6 separate regions of the Homo sapiens genome follow, and all the other regions are linked to region 6. Evidence: promoter capture Hi-C in 16 types of primary human blood cells and fetal thymus (Javierre and others, 2016). All regions are on one chromosome and are shown on one strand. The core of a region is centred on a gene start or on the middle of the fragment in contact, and the rest is flanking DNA. Distances in the headings are between cores, read along the strand shown.

The links. Contacts are between HindIII fragments. The CHiCAGO score rates a contact against its expected background, and 5 or more counts as called.
Region 1: a contact is called between a fragment that was not itself captured here and the fragment with the promoter of DRGX in region 6, in 2 of 17 cell types (M0 macrophages and M1 macrophages). The highest score is 6.8, in M0 macrophages.
Region 2: a fragment that was not itself captured here is called in contact with the fragment with the promoter of DRGX in region 6 in 4 of 17 cell types (M1 macrophages, M2 macrophages, megakaryocytes and 1 more); the score reaches 8.7 in M1 macrophages.
Region 3: a contact is called between a fragment that was not itself captured here and the fragment with the promoter of DRGX in region 6, in 2 of 17 cell types (total B cells and M1 macrophages). The highest score is 6.2, in total B cells.
Region 4: a contact is called between a fragment that was not itself captured here and the fragment with the promoter of DRGX in region 6, in 1 of 17 cell types (M0 macrophages). The highest score is 5.1, in M0 macrophages.
Region 5: a fragment that was not itself captured here is called in contact with the fragment with the promoter of DRGX in region 6 in 1 of 17 cell types (M2 macrophages); the score reaches 5.1 in M2 macrophages.

The regions. Positions count from the first base shown.
Region 1 is chr10:49,011,242-49,015,808 of GRCh38, reverse strand. VSTM4 (V-set and transmembrane domain containing 4) reads left to right here. Exons shown (of 8, transcript NM_001031746.5): 8 at 1-1,573. Among named protein-coding and RNA genes, the nearest start is that of MIR4294, 28 kb to the right of the region's middle. RefSeq lists a silencer at 3,634-3,889. The HindIII fragment of the contact is 4,698 bases long and covers 26-4,567 here.
Region 2 is chr10:48,973,460-48,977,736 of GRCh38, reverse strand. It overlaps WDFY4 (WDFY family member 4), which reads right to left. Exons shown (of 62, transcript NM_001394531.1): 58 at 2,696-2,875; 59 at 758-940. It overlaps LOC105378298 (a long non-coding RNA gene), which reads left to right. Exons shown (of 4, transcript XR_007062370.1): 4 at 637-758. Among named protein-coding and RNA genes, the nearest start is that of MIR4294, 10 kb to the left of the region's middle. The HindIII fragment of the contact is 939 bases long and covers 1,390-2,328 here.
Region 3 is chr10:49,062,905-49,066,994 of GRCh38, reverse strand. It overlaps VSTM4 (V-set and transmembrane domain containing 4), which reads left to right. Exons shown (of 8, transcript NM_001031746.5): 5 at 2,259-2,292. Among named protein-coding and RNA genes, the nearest start is that of VSTM4, 51 kb to the left of the region's middle. The HindIII fragment of the contact is 1,840 bases long and covers 975-2,814 here.
Region 4 is chr10:49,035,064-49,039,433 of GRCh38, reverse strand. All of the region lies in intron 7 of VSTM4 (V-set and transmembrane domain containing 4), which reads left to right. Among named protein-coding and RNA genes, the nearest start is that of MIR4294, 52 kb to the right of the region's middle. The HindIII fragment of the contact is 664 bases long and covers 1,812-2,475 here.
Region 5 is chr10:49,117,591-49,121,606 of GRCh38, reverse strand. It overlaps LOC124902545 (a long non-coding RNA gene), which reads left to right and starts at 146. Exons shown (of 2, transcript XR_007062371.1): 1 at 146-404; 2 at 499-1,491. The HindIII fragment of the contact is 2,250 bases long and covers 1,403-3,652 here.
Region 6 is chr10:49,393,262-49,397,370 of GRCh38, reverse strand. DRGX (dorsal root ganglia homeobox) reads left to right here and starts at 1,282. Exons shown (of 7, transcript NM_001276451.2): 1 at 1,282-1,436; 2 at 1,850-1,964. The coding sequence starts at 1,931. The HindIII fragment of the contact is 25,200 bases long and covers 1-4,109 here.

The sequences.
Region 1 (4,567 bases), core at 1,125-3,624, 380 kb after region 6:
AGTCTTTTTGTGTCAGCCTAAAGCTTAGGCTGGTGTCCATGTGGAACATGACATCTTTCCAGTATCCCTGATCCAGGAAACTGCAGTGAGACCCAGGTGACCCAGCTCTGTGTCATTTGGAGCCCATTAAAAAGTGAGGCAGCCACATGGCGGGGACATTGACCCCACTCCAGACCACACTCCCATCTCCATACATAGGATAGAAACTGTTCATCAGGAAGGAAAACCAAACAGAAATTCGTGGTCTAGGGGAGGGGTCTGCATTCAGCATGGCCATGCTGGGCTGGAGTGGCTGTGGGGTGTCCAGATAGATGGGCATGTAGACTAGTGCTTTCTCAACCTTTAATGCATGCACAAATCATCGAGATCTTGTTAAAATGTAGATCCTGGGTGGGCACGGTGGCTCACGCCTGTAATCCCAGCACTTTGGGAGGCTGAGGCGGGCGGATCATGAGGTCAGGAGATCGAGACCATCCTGGCTAACACGGTGAAACCCTGTCTCTACTAAAAATACAAAAAATTAGCCAGGCATGGTGGTGGGTGCCTGTAGTCCCAGCTACTCGGGAGGCTGAGGCAGGAGAATGGCATGAACCCGGGAGGCGGAGCTTGCAGTGAGCCGAGATCGTGCTGCTGCACTCCAGCCTGGGCAATAGAGTGAGATTCCGTCTCAAAAAAAAAAAAAAAAAAAATGTAGATCCTGGCTCAGGAGGTCTGGGATAGGACCTGGGATTCTGAGTTTCTAACAAGCTCCCAGGGATGTCCATGCTTCTGGTCCCTGAACCACACTTTGAGTGACAAGGATGTAAACTGTTGGAAACATGGATCTGGTGCTCATTGCGGGAAAGGGGGTGTCCTCAGGGCATAGGTCACAGCCAAAGCCCTGACAGCGGGCAAGAGTCCCAGGGAGAGGCTGCCTGCACATTGAGGAGGGGAAGGGCTGGGCCTGAGCAGTGGGGAGCATCCATGCTGGCAGGTATGCAGCAGGCAAGGAGATCCAGGTGGAGATCAGAGGACAGTGACAGTCACAGCAGCAGGGGAGAGCCAGGAGAAAGCTGCTCCTAGGGGTGTCTCAAAGGAAGAAGGGATCTGCAGTGTGAACTCTGCAGAGGGCAGGGAGAATAGAGGTTAAGCCTTTGCTCATTCTGAATTAATTGATTACTGCTTTTTAAAAGTGCTTTCTTTCTCTGGGAAAAAAAAAACATTCCCCAGTGCCTAAGGCTAACAGACGTGGGCGCTGAGCTGTGTCTGGTCTGCTGAGTGTATTTTCCCCAGAGCAATCCTCATCTTCTCAGGGGGTGGGGATTTGGACAAGACTCTTCCTGAACACGCAGCGTGGTGGGGAAGGGTGGCCATGGAGGTTTTCTGTTCCTTCTGTTGTCACTGGTGAAAGACGACTTGGTGCCCAATTTCTAATAAACACAATGCTATTAGCGTCACTCCAATTTAGTGTCTGATTGTTAAATGTTAATGTACTGCACTCTACAGTTTTAAATATAATTAGAGATGTTTACAGCTTTGGTTAAATGCACCTTGTTCTTCCACATTAAACTTTATTACAAGCGTCCTCCATCAACAACGAGGAGAAAGCTCATTAGTAGGTGGTCTGTATGGGGTTCTGGGCTGTGCTGAAGGAATCAGCCTTCTGTTTTCCTTTATGACAGCTTTCTACATGCTGGGGGCGGCCAGGGTGATTACTTCCTGTTTATGTGTACACTTAGTACCTCAGACTCCTGGGTCTGTGGATGGATCTCAGGGAAGCCAACAACACCCAGGAATTTTTATGCAGACGTTTGTGTTGTGTGTGTGAGGGTCTGATGTTCTCTTCAGTTTTCTAAAAGGGGTCTGTGGTCCACAAAAGATGGAGACTTTAGAGAGGGTCCTAAGCCAGTGTCCTGGCCACAATGGACCCAGAGAACATCATGAGGAAGCTGGGCAAACTAAGGAGATGGAAAGGTACCTGCCAGCCTGGCGACCTCCCAGGCATTCTAACCCTAAAACTGCCCCTTGCACTGAGCTCTGGCTCCAGGAAGCCTCTCTGCTCCCACCCTCACTCCTGCTGGCTGGAAGAACCCTGACCTCTTGCAGGGCTGATCTTTGGCTCAGCTAAGGATTGGGGCTCCCAATCCTCCCCTTTGTGGGGTCTCCTCCATCTCTTTTCTCCCTCAGCCCATGTGTGGGTTCCCAGGTTCTCACAGTACCCCAGTTCTGAGTGCCCTGTGACTGCACCCCAGCCCATTTCATAGTCAGTTTGGAATTCCTTAAAATGTTGTAACTGAAATCAGGTTCTCCTGCTCACTGCTTGGAAGCCAAACTTGAGAGACAAGATTTAGTGGAAGGAAAAGCAGGCTTATTCAAGAGCTGGCAGCCTGAGGAGATGGCAGACTAGTGTTGCAGAGACCATCTCAAGTCAGTACAAATTCTAGGCTCTTTTTATGTTAAAGACATGACCAACAACTGCTAACATCTGGGCACCAGCGAGGGTCCAGGAAGTTGGAAACTCCTTTGTCCTTGGTCAGATCACAAAGCTCCTATAAACCTTCAACGAAACATAGTTGTTTACATACTTCTCCTTTAATCCCAGAGTCAGTTTCAAAAACTACATGATTGCTGTTTTTGCATTTTATCTCAGTGCCCTAAAATTATCCTAGCCTACGTGCAGGAATGGATAAGGGCTCCCTTAATTGAAAATGGAGTTAGTTGTGTTAGTTCTTTTGCTCTTTCATTCTTACAATGTCTTGTTCCTGCTTCCTCATTCTTCCACCTCATCAGGATTCATTTCTAGTTTCCTTGGGGTTCTCCTTTACCATGTAACCCCTCATCTTTTTTGCACATTCAACTTCTCCTTCTATCTCCAAAATGACAAGTGTTTCTCAACCTGCACAGACCCCTCCCAAGCCACTATTCTCCTCTGGTTCCTTCTCTCTGCAGCCTGGAGTCTACACTGCCTGCTCCCTGCTGTCTGTCTCTCACCCTCTGCTGGCTGCCTTTGCTCCCCCTCCCCTGAACTCAGCTCTGCCCAAGCCCTCTGGGGTTCGCTGCTGAGCATGTGTTCTCTTGCAGAGAATGTCTTATTTTCAACCACTGTTCAGCTGTATCCCGAGGACCCCACCTCCACAGCCCCCGTGGAGCCCTCTCCTGAGCTCCATGTCCACCCACGAGCTCCCCCCTTGCAGCTCCCTCATGACTCCTGGAAGTATACACCCAATACTGAATGCATCAGAGCACCCTGCATCTCTTGATACCCAGCCATCCTGGTTAGGGCTCCACCGCTCACCCCATGGCTAAAGCTGCAAATCTAGCATTGGAGATATGGGCCACCGGCAGCAGCAGTGGAATCACTGCTGACTTATTGAAAATACCAGGTGCCTGGCACTGTGGTAAGTATGTTTTCTGTCTTATCTCATTAAGCCAGTGCTACTCTATGCCAATTTGCAGATGAAGAAGCAGAAGACCTCAGCTAGCTGGCCCAGGATGGCAGAGCTGGAGCCCTCCTCTCTCCTGTCCATCTCCCCTGCATGCCGGCACCTCCCCCATTGTCTTCATTCACATAGCTCCTGCTTCCCATCAGCTCTGATCACCTCTCTCATGGACCACCACTCTGACTCCTGACCTGTTCCCTGCCATTTAACCCACCCTCCGACATGCAGACTGGCCGAGTTACCCCTGCCCAACATCCTGCCCCGACTGCCCTCAGGATGCCCAGCACCTCGAGGAGTAGCAAGGCCCTTCATACCTGGCTCCCGCCTACCTTTCTGCAGTTTCCCCTCTGTGCTGTTGACCCAGGCCTCGGTGGCTGTGAGCTGCCACCTTGGAAGCCCAGCCCAGCGTGGTGTGGAGCTTCACGGTTGCAAGAGCAGGCCTGTGCTGGGCATGAGCGTGTCCCATGGCAGTGGCAGCATTGGCCATGATCAGAGCCCGTGGTGCGCTGCAAGCAGGCCTTGGGACTGGTGAGATCCCCACAGGCAGCCAGCCACCCAGCCCTGTCTTCAGCAGCATCTGGAACCGGAAGAGCAGGAAGCCCAGGTGGGGTCCCATGCTCTCCCAACCCCAATCACCACTGACATGGCTGCTGGCTGTGATGGCAGCCCCTGTGGCAGCACAGAGCTGGCAAGTTCAATGGGAAGTGCCTCAGCCCTCAGGAGGCAAGCAGCAGGTGAGCATAATAAGGACTGACCCCAGGGATACCTGGGAAGATGCCTTCTGGGTGTTCTTTGGCACGTTAATGGAAGGACAATCAAAGAAAGGCCCTGGCCGGGGAGTGGGACTCAGGAGGCCCTCGCTGTGCAGTGGCAGATTTTATCTCCACCCCCAGGTAGCAGTGCAGGCCTTCCCAGGTGCCAGAAGATGGTGACTTGGTTTCCAGGAACATGACCTCTCTATAGGATGTCCTCACTAAAAGAGATACTAGAGGTTGTCTACTTAAACTCCCCTTTCGTTCCCCACCATTTATACAAAAGACCACGATTTAAAGGAGAGTTTAGGTAACAGAGATGCAGGGTGGGCATCAGGATCTGGACTCAGGCTTTCTCTGCCCCTTCCATAGCTCCTCATGCCCTGGCTCTTGTCT
Region 2 (4,277 bases), core at 610-3,109, 420 kb after region 6:
TCAGTGACCACATCGAATGAATGAGTGCTGAGTGCACAGAAGACCCTCACTTACGCTTTGGGGGGGCCCAGGAGAGTAATATACTCTGCAGCTCGGCCACCCCAGGCTCCTCTGGCTGGCCCACTGATGTGGGCCACACCCCACCAAGCCCAGGCCATCCCAGGATGCCCTGCTTTCTGCAGAGGCCACAGATAAAGTCCTATGAGGGGACTGCCTAGGTACCTCAGCCTGCATGGATGGATGGATGGATGGATACATGGAGGGATACATGGATGGATGGATGGATGGATGGATGGATGGATGGATGGATGAGTGGATGGGTGGATAGAGAGATGGATGGGTGGATGGATGGGTGGGTAGATGAGTAGAGAGATAAATGGGTAGGTGGGTAGATAAATTAGTGGATGGGTGGGCAAGTTTGGTTTGAATGGATGACGCAAATATCTCCTTTTAGCATTGGGATATAATCTTTTGCATTTAACCATTCAACTTTTATATGTTGTAACAGTATTTATTTTAGTGTGTGTCTGTGTGTGTGTGCATGTGTGTGTCTGTGTGTGTAATACTATATATATAATTTTATTTATTTACTTTTTCCCTGCAAAGAGCCTTGTCTTTTCCCTTCCTTTGCTGTAGGTACCCGTTCTGGAATGGTCTCAAATGCAACCTGCAGGTTTGGCCCCCTGGAGGAAGTGAGAAGAATGGAGATGAACACGTTTCTTGTGTCATGTCCTCATTCTGCCCAAGACACACCTACCCGGACCATGCCGTCTTGACTCCCGGTGATGATGATCTGGCTTGTGTCCCATGCTGGGCCCTCCATCAGGCAGCAGCAGGTTATGGCTCCTTCTGGGCCCCAGGCTGTGGTGATGCTGGCCAGGGGCTGTCCATTGACATTCCACAGGGACAAGTGTGCTCCCGCACAGGAGACAATGGTGCCCTGTGCAGTGAGAGCTGGCATCACTCTAAGCTGGAGTCACTGCCTGCCCATCAGCCACTTGCTCAGCTACCCAGTTGGTACACCCAAGTACTCTCAATCTGTCATGCTCTGAAGACCCCCAAGGTACCCCAAAACTTCTTTCCAGCTGACTTACAGGTCTGCTGTGTTTTCACACAGTTGTAAATTCTTGGTTCTTTTCATACTGCAGTCATGTGCTTAGATACTTCTTTCCTGGCAGAAGGCACCTGGCTCACCCTCAGGCTCCTCCCAGATCCCACTCCCCAACCACACCCTGACTGCCACAGAAGATCCAGCCTGAAGGGTAGCCCTGGCTTTGGACACACAGCTTACACCTGGTAGGTCAGCCCTGCCCCATAAAGAAGTTTTGGATGCCACCTGGTGGATGGCAGGGTACAGAAGTTCCAATGACTGCATGTGGCTCATAAGCTTGTGCAATGTCCCTGAAGAGGGAATTTCTAAGGAGAAATTTCCCCATTGTATCTCCTGATATGCTCACATTTGAGTCTTTCCTCCTCAAGTCCTGTTTATTCTATAGTGGCCACTGTCACCAAGGTCCTGGGGCCATCCCTTTGAGCCTTGCCCTAATCACAGAAGGGATGTAGGGTGCTCAGTGCCCCTCCACATCTCACTGGGCTGGGATCCATTAGAAGTTCCTGAATTGTTAGGGATGGTCTGTCTGAGGCCAGAGGCCATGTCTGATACCTCTCTGCCCCACAACCAGCAAGCACAGACTGAAATCAGTTGGCTGCAGGACAACTTGTCCTGGTGCCAGGCTTCTCTGGGGTCTAGGGACACAATTCCTGATGGGTTTTATATTCTCCCAGGTGAAGGCTTCAATGCCTTCTATACATCAACCCATCCATCCATTCACCCACCATCTACCAATCCATTATCCATTTCATCCATCTTTCCATCCACCTATTCATCCATTTATCTGCTCATTTATCCATCCATCCATCCATTCATTTATCTATCTACCCATCCACTCATCTATCCACCCGTCCATCCATCTATCCATTCATCCACCCATGCATCCACTCATCTACCCATCCATCCACCCATCCATTCACACTCCATCTACTCATCTAACATTGAATCCAGTTTTGAATTCAAGCCTACCTGGAGCACCACTTTCAGCAAAAATTGGAACCAGGAAGCTCCTATATCATCCCTCCTCTTTTGAGCCCTCTGCCCATTTTATTTATGCCCTGGGCCCCTTAGGTTTTCTGTGAGCAGATGCAGAAACCTCTGCATCCTCAGGGAACCCCATATCCCATGACAGGGCTTCAGTCTGGAAGAAATTTCACACCGGTAAGTCGATCTCCCTGGTCTTTGTTAGCCAGTATGGAAGGAGAGGCAGAGAAGCTTGCACTGCCATGAAGACCAAACCTGCCAAGTCAACACTGATTTGAAGGTAAAGACCTAAATGAGTCAGCCACATCCAACAAAACCCTCCCTAAAAGCCAATTTTTCAGCTGCAGCCCCCTGGTGCCCGCAGCAAAGCAGACACTTCCCACTGTCCCCAACACCAGAGGGAGGAAAGTAAAGAAGCGGACATTGAAGCTAGACCTGGGTGCTACAAGTGAGATCTACAGCGACTGTTCCACACAATTGGGGGCCCTCTCAGCATTCTGGGGTGGCTAGAGTCTCTGTGTCTCTGGGCTTTCTCCTGAGTGTTGTACCCCATGCTACTGCGAAGGTGAGGACACGGACACTGAGAAACAGGAGACTTACTGAGACGTCACTGATGGTGATGGCTGAGATGCCTTCCCGATGGGCGGGCAGGCGGGTCACGTGGGTGAGGTGGTCCAGATCCCACAGGATACAGGTGCAGTCCTGGGAGCCGCTCACCAGGAGGCTGAAGGTGACTGACGCTGCCAGGCACGTGACAGCCTGTGTGTGTCCATACAAGGCCTGGGGACAGAGACTCACAGGTTAGGAGAGGGACCCTCAATTCAGCTACTTTTGGGAATTCTTCACCCTCCCTATAAAGCTGGGTGCTGGATGAGGAAATGGAGATTCTGAGTGAGTCAGTGATTCCCAAGTCTGTTGTCTGTGCAGCTGGGGGTGTGTGCATGTGCGTGTCCATGACTAGCCTCTCCATTTCATTCATCTCCAGGGGTGGAGGCTCTGCTGGGGAGAAACCATTTTTTTACTTATAACCCAACCAGAGGCTAGCCACACCTGGATGTTTTGTGCTGCCCTACATCTATCTTGAACCCGGGAGCAGTTCATGTCATGAGTTGTTTTTTTTTTTTTTTTTTTTTTTTTTTGAGACGGAGTCTTGCTCTGTTGCCTAGGCTGGAGTGCAATGGCATGATCTCAGTTCACTGCAGCCTTTGCTTCCCAGGTACAGCAATTCTTTTGCATCAGCCTCCCAAGTAGCTGGGATTACAGGTGCCTGCCACCATGCCTGGCGAATGTTTTTTATTTTTAGTGGAGATGGGGTTTCACCAAGTTAGCCAGGCTGGTCTTGAACTCCTGACCTCAAGTGATCCACCTGCCTTGGCCTCCCAAAGTGCTGGGTTTACAGGTGTGAGCCATCACACCTGGCCAGTTCATGTTACGATTAACATACAAAGCACTGTTGGCAAACTGTGGTGCCCACACCAGCAGGCTCAGTAGCAGCAAGTAGCCTCTTAGAATGCAAATTCTTGGGTTCCACTCCAAATCTCCTGAATCAGAAACGCTGGGGATGGGGCCCTGAAGTCTGAATTTTCACAAGCCCTCAGGGGATTCTCACATGTGCCCAACTTTGAGAGCCATCTCGGTAAGGGAACCTCAGAGGCACGTGCACTCTTGAACTAAACTGGGAAGAAGAAAAGGGGAGGTCACATGGTCATCAAAAAGATGGGGCTTTTCGAGTCTGATAGGTCTGGATTCATAGCCACTGGGACACTTAGACGTCCTTGGTCTTGGTCCTCAGGTTTGGCTTGTGTGGGGCCTGGTCTGACTCATGGATGGCTGTGTGTCCAGATCTGGCTGGAGGCCTTCTTCTCTGTGGACACTTCCCCAAGGGGCCAAAGTGGCCCACCACACATGCTGGTACCCCCTGGCCAACTGCTGCAGGCAATGGTGTGGATTCCATCACCAGCACTCCAGAGGCTGCAGGTCCCAGAGGCTCTGATCTGAGGTCCTCTGCTCACATGTGCTTGCCATCACCTGGACTCAGCCGGAGGGGCACGGAGGTGGCATTCTGAAGCGTAATTGGCCTGGCTTACCAAGTGGTAAACCTCCACCCTCAGGGCAGAGACAATCACTCATTCATTTGGGTCAATGAGGCTAAGCGTCATTTTTCAAAGCTGTCACTTTGCCC
Region 3 (4,090 bases), core at 645-3,144, 330 kb after region 6:
GTATTGTTCCTTCTTCTCCTTGAATTTTTATCTTCAGTACACTTCCCCACAAAATTTCATCCTACTGTAATACATCTTTTGTTTTGAAGGTTCTTTATTGATTACCCTATTTTACTTATCTGTAAGATAATATGTGTGTACAAATTTAAATTAATAATTTTTTAATTTCCTCATTTCATAAGTGTCTGTTAAAATATTTTTTAGATTGACTTATTAGTATTGCACAATTAGTAAACTTTGGAAAATTAGCATAAGATTAATCAAGATGACATAAACATATCATAAATTTAGATACATAATAGCCATAAAAAGCAAAATTTATTGGGAATGCATTTTTATTGAAATTGATTTTTATTTTTACTTCATATACCCTGGTATGAATTTTTTAGGGATAAAATTTATCATCAATTTTGTTAATAGATATTAGCTCTGAAATACTTCAATATAAACAGAGTATGAATGAATGAATGAAATTTTCTTATACTCCTCAATTTTTAGAACTACTTCCAAGGTATATGTCAAAAGTCACATCATGATTTATCATCCAAAATGATTTTTAATACTCTACCAGATGACAATTGGATTAGGTCATTATTCAATCCTTGTTGAAAGCAAAGTATTAGAAACATCCCCCCCTTGTGAAAGATTTAGTTGCCTAGTTAATAATTTGCTTTATTGACACAGATATTAGTATTTTACATTAATTCTTGTTTGATGTCTCATTTACGTTTCAATCTGGGACAGGTCTCCAGGATGGTGTGCTTTGATTTTATGAATAGAAAAGGGTGATGTTAAAAGTGGGGAAGGGAAATGAATACGGCCAGACCTCAGGCATGTTCTAAGAGAATGCATTCTTAGGAAAGAATACCATGGGAGGTGAGGATGTTAAGGTGATTCCTTAAAACTGTTTTGCCAAAGAGTACCCAGGGGTATCCAGACCCTAGACTGAAGACCACTGATCCATCTAATAAGCTTAGAATAGTGCCAGGGACACATGAAATGTTCGATAAATACTAACTATGGTTGTTATTATTGTTGCATCTATAGATTATCTAGTATACAGTAGATGCTCGGTAAATGGAATACAGAAAGAGTTTAGGTATTAATAGGAGGCTGAACGAGATAAACCTGTACAGTTCCATTTGAAGCTGAGATTCTCTCATCTTACTTTGGAAGCTGCGTAACAGATCACCCCATATGTAACAGCTTAAAGCAACTATTATCTGCTCTCAATTCCACAGGTTGCCAGTTTGGGCTGGGCTTAGCTGACCATTTCTTCTGCTGGTCTCAGCTGGAGTCATTCATGCAGCTGCAGTCTCTTGATGCATTACCTGGGACCTGGTTGTTCGGGGCCTTGGCTGGGACAGCTGGTGTCTGCTCCGTGTAGTCTCATCTTCCAGTAGGCTAGCCAGGCTTCCTCATGTGGTGACAGAAAAATTCCCTGCAACAAGAGAGGGCAAACCCCATAGCACAGGTGTCTTTTACACCTCTGCTTGTGACACATTGGCTAATGTTCTCTTGACCAAAGCAAGTTCATATGGCCAAGCCCAGAGTCAGTTTGGGAGGGGGTACACATGGGTGTGGACACATACAAGGAGGTGTGATTCACTGAGTCCACTGATGTAACAATCTACCACACAATTCAAGGGTCCCCCTGGTTGTTTCAGCTTTACCTCTATTTGAAGTAAATTCAGCTGTGAACCTCAGAGTGGACACTTGCTGGATTATGTGCCTAGGTATTCTTACTTTTCCTCTGCAGCCAGAATCATTTGGTTTTCCTGTAGGAGGAGGTTTTGGTCCAAGACTCTTTTCCCGAGGGCCTCTTTTTAGTCCTGGAAGAGCATTAATCAGAGAATTCAAACTCATTTTTCAATGAGGAGCTTCTAAATGGACACGTTATTCCATCTGGCCTCAAGAGGGCTTTCTTATGACTCAGGCAGAGCTTAGAGGTTGAGTGACTCTATTACTCCAGGATCCCAACTTAACCTGCCTTGGCCCAAAATGAATACCCAGGAAGTCTGGGGTGTATGGCTTAATGCCTGGCTAGATCCCTGGCTGGGACATATCCAGTCACTGTTGTGTTCATGTGATGGCTCTGCTGTGCTCTTCCAAACAGAAGAATGCAAGTCTTGAGAGTTGGGTGGTATAGCACCAATACCTGAACAACACCTGGCTCCCGGCATTTCCTTGTAATTCCTGGAGCATATATATCTGAAGTAGCATTGGTTTACCATCTTCTATTATTTTTCCTTTCACAGTGAGACATTATTTGGTGAAATGCCCTCAGAACAGGTAAGAATATTTTCTTCCTTTTTTCAGATGAAACTCTTTGCCATTTAACTTTCTTTTGATATTACCAATAAATTGATTAAATTTGTAGTTTTACCTAAAAGTCTGCATATTTGTCCACAAATATGCCTGCAAATGTGTATCCTGCATGCATTTGCATGTTTCCAAGGTCTACAGTCTGGTTTTCACCCCCAGGGATCCAGAGAGCATGCAGCTTTTGCTGGCCCAGCAGGCTTGCTGGAGGAGGCTTGGTGTATGGTCCTGCAGAGCTGCTCCCCAGTTTAGGAAGGGGCTCACACTTGCTCTGAACCACTTTGATACATTTTGACCACAAACACCCCCAATTCTCTTCACCAATGCTGACTTACTGTATGCCCTGCTTTTAGCTGGTGAGGCACACTTTATAGGTAACATAATAGTTATAAGAGATAGTGCTAATTCAAAGCGTTTAAAAATTTGGGACTTCTGATCCAGACAAGATGGCATAGGTCAATTTCTTCCTTCTCTTTCCTGCTGAGTAAAGCTTTAAACCTTGGAAATAACATAAGAGACAACCAAATGAAGACTTTGAAAGGTGGTGAAAAGAAGGTAAACTGGTTTGGAATCCCAGGACTGGAGGAGTAACACAACTGCTAGACATCTTATGTTTTCCCATCCAACAGCAGAAGGTCACCCAGACTTGCTTTTTTCCTACTCCAATCTAGCAACAGAAAACATTCAGGTAAGCTCATTCCTCCCCTGGATCAAAGGGGAGTTCCCCTGAAAACCTCAAGTGAGCCCAGCATCAGCTGCAAAGAGGATGGATCAGGGGCTCCTCCCACAATGAGCACCAGAGGAAGAGCTCACTTTTTCTTCCAGGCTAAGACTCCCTTCCTCAACCAGGTGACACCAAGCCTTCAGGGAAGAGCCAGCAAGAGGCACCTAGACACAAAAGTGGCCCAGCAAGGAAGCTTCTTCATCTCCATGGGTGTGAGGCTTCTCTCCCCTACTGAAAAACATCCAGCTTCCAAATCTGAGGAAACTCTCTCTGTCCCCTCTGGCAGCACCAGCAGGGCCCAGTGGCACCATATAAACCAAACAGACCAAAATAATACTGTAAAGTCTCTGAAAATGAAAATGCCATTGGAACTATAGCCCATAGAAGCAGACCAAGATTACATGATAAACCTGGGTGACTGCCTACAAAAATAAGAGATTTATATAGGACCTGGGACCTTCTGACAAGCTACTATAAAAAAACCACCCATCATTTTAAAAACCACAAAAATCACAACTTGAATGAGAAGAGATAATAGATCAGATCAACACTGGGATGAATCAGGTGTTGAAATTATCTGACAAAAATTTTGAAGCAGTTTTTTTCTTTCTATGAGATGGAGTTTCACTCTTGTTGCCCAGGCTGGAGTGCAATAGCATGATCTTGGCTCACTGCAACCCTCCTAGATTCAAATGATTCTCCTGCCTCAGCCTCTCAAGTAGCTGGGATTACAGGCACCCACCACCATGCCCAGCTATATTTTTGCATGTTTAGTAGAGACGGGATTTCACCATGTTGTCTAGGTTGGTCTCAAACTCGTGACCTCAGGTGATCCACCCACCTCATCCTCCAAAAATGCTGGGATTGCAGGCATGAGGCACCACCTGCAGGCTTAAAGCAGTTTTTATTAAAAAAAAAAAAAAGATTCAATCATCAATTCAAATTATCTTAAAACAGTTGACAAAATAAAAAAATCTCAGCCAATAAAGAAAAAAACAAACATATGGAAATTATAGAACTAAAAAGTACAAAAACAGAAATGAA
Region 4 (4,370 bases), core at 894-3,393, 360 kb after region 6:
GCGTGGCTACCGGGGGATTTTTCTAAAACACAGCTTCATCTGTGTCATTTCCCTGCGTAAATGGCTCCCTCTCGCCTCCAGGATGAGGCGGCTTCCTGTGAGTAGCGGCTGGCTCTTGTCATAATCTGCCTGCGCTCCCTCAGGCCCACCCCACCCAGGACCCTCATCCTGCTGAGACCCCAATTGGTCTAGGTCCTCTGTCCTCACCTACGCCTGCCTCATCCTCCCGCAGAGCTGCTGCTCAGCTCTAAGATGTGGCTCACTCACCACCTTCTTTTTGAGGCCTCCTCCCCTCTGCCCCCCACTTCTCTGGAATCTAGGTTGGCCTAGGCATCTGAGTAAGTTGTGCCTGTTCACGTCAGTGACCTGCTTGTAGACAGCTCTTGGGGCACTTTTCGGTTCCTCTGTCCTGGATGCCCCCTCATGGTCCGCCCACCTTTGTACTTGCAGGTGGTCCTGAGAGGCCTGGGCCCTCTGGTTGACTGCTTTTACCCCTGGCTGTTGCTCCTCCACAGGTGGTCAGGCTGCCTCCCCCTCCTCCACTGTCCTAGAATGTTGGCTTCTCTTGGGCTGTCTTCTCCTTGACATTCACAGGCACAGCAGCCATCTGTGCAGCCCATTGGTCCCCTAACGGGGGTCCTCAAGCCAATTTCAGAACAACCCTTCTGACTGTTGACCAGACACTCCCCTGGAGGGCCCACAGGCACCTCAAATCCGCCATGACATAAGCACACACGGAGCTCATGGCCTGCCCCACACCTCAGTGTGCATGGGATATCCCGCCTTAGCCCATGGCATTCCCATCCAGAAGCTAAATCGTGGTAAAATACACATAACAGCAAACGTACTATCTTCATCATTTTTAAGTGTACAATTCAGTCATGTGAAACACTCCCACTGTGGTGTGGTCAATCTCCAATGCTCTTTTCATCTTGCAAAACTGAAACTCTGTACTCAAGAAACACCCCCCACTCCCACCCAGCCAGCCCCTAGCTTCCACCATTCTACTTTCTGTCTCAATGAATTTGACTGCTTTAGCAACCTCATAGAAGTGGAATCATGCAGTATTTGTCCTTTTGTGACTGGCTTATTTTGCTTAGCATAATGTCCTTATTCATCCACGTTGCTGTGTGTGTGAGAATTTTCATTCTTCTTAAGGCCTAATAATATTCTATTGTAAGTATATACCACATTTTTTGTATCCATTTATCCCTTGCTGGACAACGGAGTTGCTTCCATCTTTTGGCTGTTGTGACTAATGCTGACGTGACCATGGTGTACAAATATCTGTTTGAGTTCTTGCTTTTAATTATTTTGGTTATATACCCAGAAGGGGGATTGCTGGATCAGATGGTAATGGCATTTTTAGTTTTTTGAGAAACTGCTACACTGTTTTCCAAATCAGCTGCACCATTTTACATTCCTACAAAGAGCACACAGGGTTTCAATTTCTTCATATCCTCACCAACACTTGTTGGTTTCCTTTTTTTTTTCTTTGATAGTAGCTATCCTAATGGGTGTGAGGTGGTATCTCATTGTGGTTTTGATTTGCATTTCCCTAATGAGTGATGTTGAGCATCTTTTTATGTTCTTGTCAGCCATTTGTCTATCTTTGGAGAAATGGCTATTCAAGTCCATTGACCATTTTTAAAAAAAGAGATTGTTTGATTTTTTGTTGTTGCTGAATTGTAGGAGTTCTTTATATATTGTGAATTTTAATTCCACATCAGTTACATAATTTGCCAAAATTTTCACCTGTCCTGTAGTGACTTTTTCATTCTGTTAATTGTGTCCCTTGATTCCCAGAAGCTTTAAATTTACATGGGAACTGGTTTTAAAGTCAGGGAGAACTGGTCTTACCCCTAATGATATCCTCAGCAGGGAACCTGGAGTCACTAGAGCGCCCCTTTGGCCAATGTATATGGAGTGAATGATGAATAATGTTTGCGTGGGAGGATCTGTGGTTGGAACTTAGTCTGAGTCCTCCCTGCTCCAATTGTGGGCCAGAAGGCCAGGCACTGCCTGGGAGCTTGTTGGAAAAGTAGAATCTCCGGCCCTGACTCAGACCTACTGAAGTGGAACCTGCAATTAACGAGGTCCCAGATGAATATGATAAACAGTAAAGTTTGAGAAGTGTGGCTCTGACTAACTTTTCAGACTAAGTAGGCACCTCTGGTGGGGTCGACGCTATCAGGATCCAGAGCCGCTGCCACCCACCTCCAGAGAGGACTCTGCTTTCACTTTAGTAAGACAGGTCAGCCCCCTGGGGAGAAAGGGAGTTGTTTTATCTGTCAACAAGGAGAAAACTAAATATGAGAATTCTAAAAGTCCTTGTGACTCTCCCTAATTCCTGCAAACCTTTCCAGAACAGCTCATCCGTATGTCAACCAGGTATATGTAGCCTTGCCCCATGATCTCCTAGTGTAGCACTTGGCCAGGTGACCAAGACTTACTTGCCTGTGATTCCCTCAAGCTTACAGTCCACAGTAAGCCTCCCTCTTCTCACAGAAACCCAAAGATTAGAATGCTCAAAATGGACAGAAAGGAAGTAGTTCATTCATCCTTGTTCAGAGGGACCCTGCCGTAGGAACCTGCCTCCTCCATAGCGCTGTTGAAAACCATAGTGTGGCCAGCCCAGGGCTGAGATGCCCTGCCTTGTTCCACATCTGCTGGGTGTTGGGAAGAAGTTTCTTCCCCCGGCCCTAGTTTTCACCATTGAGAATGTACTGCCAGGGCCAAAAAAGAATCTGTCTCTTATCAGTAGCAGAAAAGGACTTTGAAGCACATTAGAAAGCAGTGATAGAATTCTGAGAGGATTTTAATAATAACCCAAATCCCAGCAAAATTATTTCCAGAGGACATGCATTTCAGGTTTCTTGAAGGATGTTTATAATAAGCCAGAGAATTTCTCTTGTTGTCGTTAATGTGCTAGAACTGGTTTCAGTTAAATTTTACATGAAAAGGATATATTAACCTGCATAAAATATGTTCATAATCTCGATTTAAAATTAAAAAGAAGAAAAAAAGCCACAACCACATGTACAATATATTGCCCCAAGTAAAAGCCTTGGGAAAAAAATACAAACTTTGCTTGTACCACGCTAGTACCATTTTTGCAGAGATAAAATTTCTATGCTCCCCTAGGTACACATGCACAGCCCATTATTGTTGCGGGGAGTTATGTATGTCAGCTGGAGGGAAGAACGGATGCTGAGGCTTCAGAAGGGATGGGCGTGCGGAAAACAGAAGCCATTTGCTTTCATGGCTTCCTCCAGTCTAGAGAGAGCAGGTATCTCGGCGTTCGGTAAGCTGGATGTGATCAAGATCATATCTCTCCCACACTGGAAGTGAGAATATCCTGTATCAGGAAGTCTGTTAACCTTGACACAGGGCTGTCTTTTCCCTGCAGGCCACACAGTTAGTGCCAAGGCCCCTCTACTGCCTGCCCCTGCCAACACTTGCCTAGCAAGAACCAGGTCACGTGCTTCTCAGCTGTGTCAGAGACCAATAGAAATTCACTGGGGCTCCAATTTTGTTGAAGGTGGGCTAAGTGACACAGTTACTTTCAAGGAGTCTTTATTTATTTATTATTTTTTTTGATATAGAGTCTTGCTCTATTGCCCAGGCTGGAGTGCAATGGCAACCGTAGCTCACTATAGCCTCAAACTCCTGGGCTCAACTGATCCTCCTGCCTCAGCCTCCCAAGTAGCTGGTACCACAGGCATGTGCCACCACATCTAACTTTTTTTTTTTTTTTTTTTTTTGTGGAGCTGGGATCTCGCTATGTGCCCAGGCTGGTCTCAAACTCCTGGCCTCAAGCAATCCTCTCACTTTGGCCTCCCAAAGTGCTAGGATTACAGGTGTGAGCCACTGCACCTGGCCTCAAGAAATGTTTTAAAACTGGGGAGCTCCTTAAGCTCTCCTTAGGCCTCCCTTTTGGGAGACAAAGGGAATCCTACTGCAGATTGCTACCAACAGAGTTGTCCCCACTTTGTTCTAGAAGGGTAATGTGGCTTTGTGCTTTGAGAAGGAACTTGACTTTGGAATTGGCCCCCTCAGGACTATGTGCTTCTCCTGTTTAATGCATCACTGATTCATTCACATTGCTTTCCCAGTCTTCTATTTATTCATTCCCCAATAATTGTTGAGCGCTGATAGGCAGGGGGCAAGGTGCCAGAGAGGTGGGAGCATGAGCCTGGGAGTCACCTGACCAAGGTGAGCAGGTGCAGGGAGATGTGCTGGGCTGGAGGATGGCCTAGGCAGGAGGCAGGCCTGCACATCCAGCAGGCCAGCCCATGGGTGGCCTTTCCTGGTTGTGCAGTCCACCCTGGTCCCAGGTGTCATGGTGCGGCTCCACTCTGGGGCACGCT
Region 5 (4,016 bases), core at 1,278-3,777, 280 kb after region 6:
GGAGTTTGAGACTAGCCTGGCCAACATGGCGAAACCCCATCTCTACTAAAAATACAAAAATTAGCTGGGCATGGTGGTGGGTGCCTGTAGTCCCAGCTACTTGGGAGGCTGAGGTGGGAGAATCACTTGAACCTGGGAGGCGGAGGTTGCAGTGAGCTGAGATCATGCCACTGCACTCCTGCCTGGGTGACAGAGCGAAACTCTGTCTCAAAAAATCATATGTTGAATCCTAATCCCTAGCACCTCAAAATGTGACTGTATTTGGAGTTAAGGCTTTTAAAGAGGTAAATTCATATGGGAGTGCCTAATCCAATATGACCAGAGTCTTTATAAGAAGAGGAGATTAGGACCCAGGCACACACAGAGAGAAGACTGCATGAAGACACAAGGAGAAGATGGCATCTGTGAGTGGAAAAAAGAAGCTCAGAAGAAACCAACCCAGTGACACCTTGATCTCCAACTGTGTCACAGAACTGTGAGACAATACGTTTTTTATAGTTTAAGCCACCTGGCCTGTGGATTACGGCAACCTGAAAAAATGAATATAGATTCTGAAGAGCAGGAGACAGAGACAGGAAGACAGCAGCCACAAAGGCTCAGGGAGGTCCACATTTCAGGTAGGGAGGCTTCCCAGGTGGGGTCCTTAGGGGCACAAGCACGTGGTGAGCACTCTGTCCACATTTGTTGATGTAAATGCTGGTAATAGCATAAATACATTTGGGAGCAAGCAACTCACTTTTGGTGAACACAGGGTGGTCTCTGGCCTGAGCACAGAGGGTGATGTGGGCACATGTCAGAAGGTTTTGCAGAAAGAGTCAGGCGTGTGGGGATGTGGTGCTACTTTCAGCCTCAAATGCTTCCCTCCCTGTGACCAGAAGGTCCCACAGAAAAATGAGCTGGGCACAGGGACAAAGAGGATGTGCTGAGCTTTAGAAAAGACAGAGTAAAGAGATTCATGAAAATGTCAGGTCTACAGCCCACAGCCTGGGTACCAGAAGCCAGAGCTCATGTGTGCATGTGTGTGCATACATTTGTGTGTGTGTGTGTGTGTGTGTGTGTGTGTGTGTGTGTGTTACCTGCTGCTCTGCACTGGGCCATGCTAACACCTAGCTCGGGCCAAGCACAAGGACCCTGTGAAGAGGCTCACAAATGACTCCTGACTCCTGAGGATTTATGTACCATCTGCTGCTGGACTTACTGCAGTCCCTCCAAGCACACCCTCAAGGACTACTGAGCTGGGGTGCCATCAGTCTTGGGAAAAGAGAGTGAGAATTCCCTAAAGCAATGTTTGGCAAACTTGACTACTATTCTTTTCAAAGGCCAAGAAACATTCCTATGGACCCTGCCTTGACTTCAGTTATTGCTGTGGAAATAAAGCAGCACAAACACAAACAGCTAAGCTTATAGTTGCTTTACAAGTGCAAAACAAAAACCAAATGTGTAAATTAAACACAATTGCAAACAGCAATAAAACTCAAACTAACAACATTAGTTTAATGTGACTATGGGTGTTTGTGAAACCGATTTGCCTCTTCTGTGAATATGGAACTGAATGCCATTCAGATTCTCCTGATGGGTGATGGGCTCTCATGCCAAGGGCTGGGAAGTGAGTCAGAGCCTTACAGGAGTCGCATGCTGATAGAGCTTGATGCCTTTACCTCCACAGGAGTCAAACTGCCACGTGTGTCAGACCAGCTCATACTAGACTTTGGTTACAATCCATTGCTTCTCTAACACTTTTAGTCTAGACTTGCTCCAAGCTGGGAGTCTTTGTGTCTCTGTAGAGGACTTACAGAGGTCTTATTCCCTTATTTCTAAGTTATTAAGAATGCAGAATGGGAATTTTCCTGAAGCCTAAGTCTTCTGCTTGGATTCACAAAACATCAGAACTGCATTTACTGTAACATCTTTGACATGGGGAGGAAGCAATTTATAATTAATAGTACCTTACAATAGATGAAATAATGTAATATGTATGATACTGATCAATAATTACATGATGCCTATGAGCAGCATATATATAAAAACACTGAGATATCATAAAAGTAATAAACAAGTTTTAGTTTTAAGTTTTACTTCGAAAAAAATGAAAACTTACAGAAGTTGCAAGAATAGTACAATGAATTCCATATGCTCTTTATCTAGATCTACTGACTTTCCCATTTGCCTCTCTCTCCCTGTGTCTCTCTCTCTTTCCATATATATATTATACAATACATATTATAGATAAACTTGTTATTTTTGCTGAACCATTTAAGAGTAATTTACAGTCATTCTATTAACACCAGATACTTCAGTGTGGATCGCCTAAGAACAAGTGTAAAGGCATTCTCTTTCATAATCATGCTCAGGAAATGTATGTAGTATACAATATAGTCCATTTGCCAGTCATACCAATAATGTCCTTTTTAGCATTTTTTTCCTGATCCCACATCAAGGATCTAGGATCATACGTTTCACTTAGTTGATAAGTCTTTTTAACCTCTTTTACTCTGAACAGTTCTTCAGTCTGTCTTTTGCTCACTGAATGTTCAATAAAAGTAGAAGGCATAGACTGAGATTTTTAGTCTTATACATCAGTGGTCAGTTCTAAGATGTTTTCTTTGTGGTCAGTTTTATAGACATCTGTTTGGTTCCTAGTCCCTCCCTCATTTCAATCACCTCCATCTGGAGCCTTCTAGGAATCTGGGGCCATGTCTTTCCGTTTCCTGGGAGCTGGTCCAGGTTGCTGCATCCAGCCGGCCTGCAGAGCCCTTGGCATCAGCTCACAATCACGTCCCTCTATTGGGGTCACCAATGAGGTTGGTTAGAAGCTATTTCTATCTAGACATCCTGTCAGGCCTATAGCTTCACATTTCTGTACATTTCGGGAAAAACAGTGTAGTCCATACTCCTTCCCCAGTTGTGCAGGGAGAAGACGGTGCTGAAGGTTTCATGTAAACTCTGCCCCAGGGGCCTTAGGCATATCTTTCTGATTGGATGGCTGCATTGTCTGTAACCACGATCTCTCCTCTTTCTTATCCTTTCCCTGCTCTCTCAGTCACAGCTGATAACTGCTTTTCTCTAGAGTGAACTCTCTTTTAGTGGCAATTCAAGCATGTAGCTGACTGCTTTTAGCTGTAAAATGCCTGTGAACAATAGGGAGGAGCAAATATTCAAAATTACTTTTAGAAACCTAGACTGAAAAAGTAACACTTGGAAATCTGCTAAACACCTTAGAAGAGGGGTGTTTCGTTTTGCTTGATGGTCTTAGTTTAGGGATATATTTGCTGTGTGCAAGGTCCATTACAAAACCATGCTGTACTCTTCCATCTCTGACCCAGGTTCTAACAAACAATTGGATAATGAAAGAGGAAAAGCCCCGGCCTGCCAGGTGATAGCAGAATGCACTTGTTGGAGAAAATCTGGATTTCTAAGATTCTTTCAGTGGCAACTGGTAGAATACAGGATTAGTTGAGTAGGCTCTCCATATAGCTTAGTGTCCACAGGAATCTGGATCAACTTTAGAATGGTTTGAACACCCTCTTCTTATGAGGTAAACAAAAAATAGAATTGGATTGTATTATTCTTCCAATTCAGTACAAAGTAAGACCTGATAGAGCCAAGGTATGGACAAAGAAGCCTGTGAAGGATTTTCAAATGGTCCTAAGCTTGTGAATGAGTGAGCAGGCAGCAGAGCTAAGAAAACCATTTGGAAGGCCTTTGCCAATGTAGTCCAGAAGAGCTGAAAGGCCAAGTCTTATCCGGGTCACTGGCTCTGTCTCCCATGAGGGCTGAGTATATTCCCTTGTTCCTGTGTTCATGCAGCAAAGGTTTTACCAGGATGATCAGTTAGATTATATGGGAAGCTGAAAAGTACCAGCAGTGCACACAGCTGTAAAATCAGCACAATGTTACCTGTAGCAGAAAAGTACAAGAAAAGCACTTTCTAGCCTCAAATCTTTGGCACAACCCCAGTTTGGTAAAGACGAAGCAAGTCAAGGGTGGCAGGCTGAATTTCTGCTCTGTTTTGCAAT
Region 6 (4,109 bases), core at 33-2,532:
GGGCCGCTTCACTGGAATAGATCCTGACTTGCCTCGACCGGAGCGGGACTGGTCTTCCTCCCGGCTGTTTTCGGAGGGGCGTCAACGGCGGCCGGGACCCAGCGCTCTGTCCTGCAGCTCGATGCTCCTTGCCCAGCGCTGGTGTCCAGCGGCGGGCCTGCCAGGCCTTTTGTTTCCAAAGCGCTGCGTCTTTAAGATCAAGGCTGTATCCCGGGCCGTGCAGGGACCCGACCCACCACCTCGCCAAGGCTCCCTAACGCAGCATTAGAATGTTTATAAAATATTCAATTTATGTAGTCTGTCCAAGAAGCCATCGTCCCAAAATAAAATCAGCAGTCTAGACGGAGCACAGACACCAGAACTTATCAACAGTTGTCTGACTTGCATCTTCTGATGCATCTTGAGTGGGTCATAATACCAACTTTATTTTCAGTGGTGCATAAATTAATTACACGCATTTAATAACCAAAATATCATTATATTCCCCCTTTAATATCATAAAGGCTTTCCGCCAGGGAAGCACTTAATAGTGCAGGGGGCCGTAACGGGCTATTATCCTGGTGTAATGCTATTACAGAACCAATTATGCGCCATTAGACTTGCTTTTTTTGCAGTTTATGTGATTTGATCCAATCCCGCGCCCCTGACTTGAAAATTTCAGCCCGGTACTTTAGAGTTTAATTTTCACCCAGGCAGAGAGAAGGGCGGTCTCTCTCCGTTGAGTGTCTGCCTCGGATGCATTTTAAAAGTAATTGCAAAGGGTCCCACCGCATATCATTTGCATCGAGAAGCGAACATAAATTCAGGGACCCCTTGCTGAGAACAAAATCAAACTTTCCTTTTGTACGATCGTTTGGAAAGGGAAGCCGTGTGCAAAGAGTCCCCCCAAAACCCATCCGGCGGCGACAATTAGCAGCGCTTTGCCAATTTGCAGCCCGGGAGTCACCAGGCCTTTGATAAGGGCAGCCCAAACCAGGCTCTCTCGGAGAAAGGTTTGCCTCTGAGGGGACATGAGGTGGGGGGTGGGGCCTAGTGTGTTTTCGGAAAATGTATGTTTTTGGGGGTGATGGTGGTGGTGGTTGTATCGTTCTCTTTTAAAAGAGGAAAAAGCATTCCTGATGTTTGCTGAGAAATGACGGATTTTTTTTTTAACACCACGTGGGCCATTTGTAAGGCCCAATAGACCTATCCAAGTTACTCGCTGTAGACAGCGCTGGAAATAATCAGATTAAGGCCAATTATGCGTGAGATTATAAAGGCGAGTGCTGAGCGGCGGCGCGCGCTGCAGACAGACAGCAAGACATCTGGCCACTTCCCGAGTCACTTCTTTGGTCCTGCGGGCGCCAGCCGCGCCGAGCCCCGCCCGCCGCCAGCCGAGCAGGGCTTGCGGATCGGAGGCGGTCACGCTCCGACCTCCTCGACCGCCGCCCGCCGAGGTATGCTCGGCTCCTGACCCACTCGCCGGGCCCCGAGCGCCGGGCCTTGGGGCTCGGCTGCCTTCCTGGCCTGAGCTGCAGCTCGCAGATGGCCTTGCGCGCTAGCCGGACCTGGCTGCGGTGGCCCGGGTGCAGGGCTTCTGGCTGGGACCCCAGAGAGCCAGAAACTACGCTGCGGGGTTTGGTGCTGGGGCCAGGGTGAGGGCACGGCCGTCCGGGAGGTGGACACACCCGAAGGACTGCCCTGTGGGGTTGCTGCTTGCGACGGGGCTGCCGCCTTCCCTCCTGTCCCCCGCAGTGAGATGAGGGCGTTGGGAGGGACTTTCCAGGAGGGGAGCGCCGGGTGCGCCCTAGGGCTGGGCGGGAGCGCTGGCAGAGGGAGACTTGAAGCTCTATCGCTGTTTGCTTTGCAGCCAGGCAGGAGCAACGCGCGCGGGTCCGTTCTGCTGCCACCCTCCCAGGTCTCGGCCGTCCAGCCGATCTGACAGCCGGCGATGTTTTATTTCCACTGCCCGCCACAGCTAGAGGGTAAGTAAGCGCTGCGCCCCAGGGTCTCCATGAAGCCAGAGCCGGCCAGAAAGGGCCGGAGCGGCAGCAGGGCTGGTGGGTGGCTGGGTCCCCGCCCTGCGGGGGGCGCAGCCGCCTGCCGGTGAGTAGGGGCCTCCCTGGACCCCTCCCTACACCCCACTCCAGGCCCGCTCCAGCTCCCCGCCCCGTCGCCACCTGCCTCCCAGCTCCCTCCCCGCCTGGGCCAGGACGCCCCGGGCTAGGCGTGCCGCGGGGACCGGCCGAATCCTCCCAGCACAGATGCTGGTGTCACGCCTCTAATTGGGGCTCCGCAACCCAGGGGGCCGCATCAATCTTTCACGGTGCTTCTGCAAACATCCCAGAAAGCAAAGGCGAGTGGACCCGCCGCGTCCTGGCCCAGATCACGAGCTGCACGAGCCTACAAGGGCCCGTCGCTGGGCTGCTCTCACTGGGGCCGCTGGCGAGAACACTGCAGGGGCCTCTTCCGCCCTGGATTCTGGGCAGCTCAATTCCCTTCCCGGCCTCCTGGCCGTCCCTGGAACCAGGTGGCCCTGCCCACCACCTGCCCGGACTGACCTAGCATGGCTCCTTCTCTGTGACTCACTAACCCTAAATGTCGACCACTCCCCACTCCCCAGGCCAGAATTTCCATCTTTGAGTGTCTCCAGGCCTGAGAAGAAATTTCCCCTCAGGATCCCCAGTCTGGCTTCTGCACCCAGTTGTTAGTGGGGGCGTGGGTTGGTGAGAAGGGGACAGTTGGGACCTCAGCATGCCCCTGCTCAGGACCCGAGGGATCCAAGGATGGGGTCTTCACATCAGGGGGCCAATTAGTAGCCATCAGGTGAGCCAATGCCACACTGTGGGCTTTAATGGGGCCTTCTGCAGAGCAGCAGTCTCAGCACTGGGGTATTGGGACTTTTGTAACCGTCGGACTGGCATTTGGCAACCTACTCGTTTGATTTATTATTGTGGTGGGAGAATTTGGGAAGCCAAGTAGTTGTGGGAGACAAGGGGCAGGGTATATGTTGTGAGGCGCTAGGAGACCTGAGACTTCAGGTGATGCTTGTCAGTCTTGCTGCAGGCTGCCCTGAGCAGTGGCTGAGCCTCAGAAAGTTTGTTTTTGTTTTTCTCATAAAAGCTCTTAAGAGTCCAATAGGATTTTCTAAAGGAGGCTAATGAGGACCAGTGTTTAAGCCCTGCTAGCTCTGTCAGCATTCCTAGGAAGGGAAGGCCACACATTTGCCTGCATTTCACATTTTATCCCCAAGTTCCCATGCAGGGTGGGTTTTATGGAAGGGTGGGAGACGTGCATCCCCTGACAGTGTACCCTAGGGGATGAGGGAGACTTTCTGTATGTTAAGGGTGCCTTCTCTGTGCATCTGAACCAGGGGTCTGGACTAATTGCCAGCCAGTGTCCCACCCTTCTGGTCAAAGTGGGTAAGGCAGAAGTTTGGGCATTTGGCAGGTAGGGGACGTCATGAATGTCTGTCTGCGGGGTGGACTGCAGCAGTGAGTTAGGGAGAGTCCTGGCCTGGCCTGCGGTGACCCCAGCTCTCAGCCCAGCTCAGCTGGCTTACTGTGCTCCCCACACCCTGGGCACATCCCACCTCAGTGCTGACTCTGTGATATAACCAGAAGAAAAGGAGATGGGTCTTTAAGAGCCTTTCATCCCTTTGTAGATGTGATTCTATGCCAGTTTTGCAGAAAGGAGTAATTTAGTTTAGTTTAGTGTTGCTGGGTGAAAGGGATCTCCCGCAAATGGAAAAGTTGAGAACAGACCCTTGGAATATGACATAATTATAGCCTATCATCTTTTTTATTTTAATTTTTTGTTAATCTAGATAGGCATAAGGGAGAAAAGAAAGAAAGGCTCATAATCTTACTTCTCAGATAATTTTGCTGATGTTACATTAAAAAGTACTACTGGCACCTGCCTGAGAAGTTTGAATACAACAGAAACTTATACATTGAAAAGCAAAATCCTCCTTTTCCACCTCTTTTCCTAAAAGTATCTGCTATTTTTTTTGTGATTCCTTCAAGAAAAACATGATTTAATTCTCATTTATGTATTTTTAAAATATGTGTTTTGCCTTATTTGCACTGAAATTATATTGCTACATCATTCTGTACTTTGCTTTTTTTACT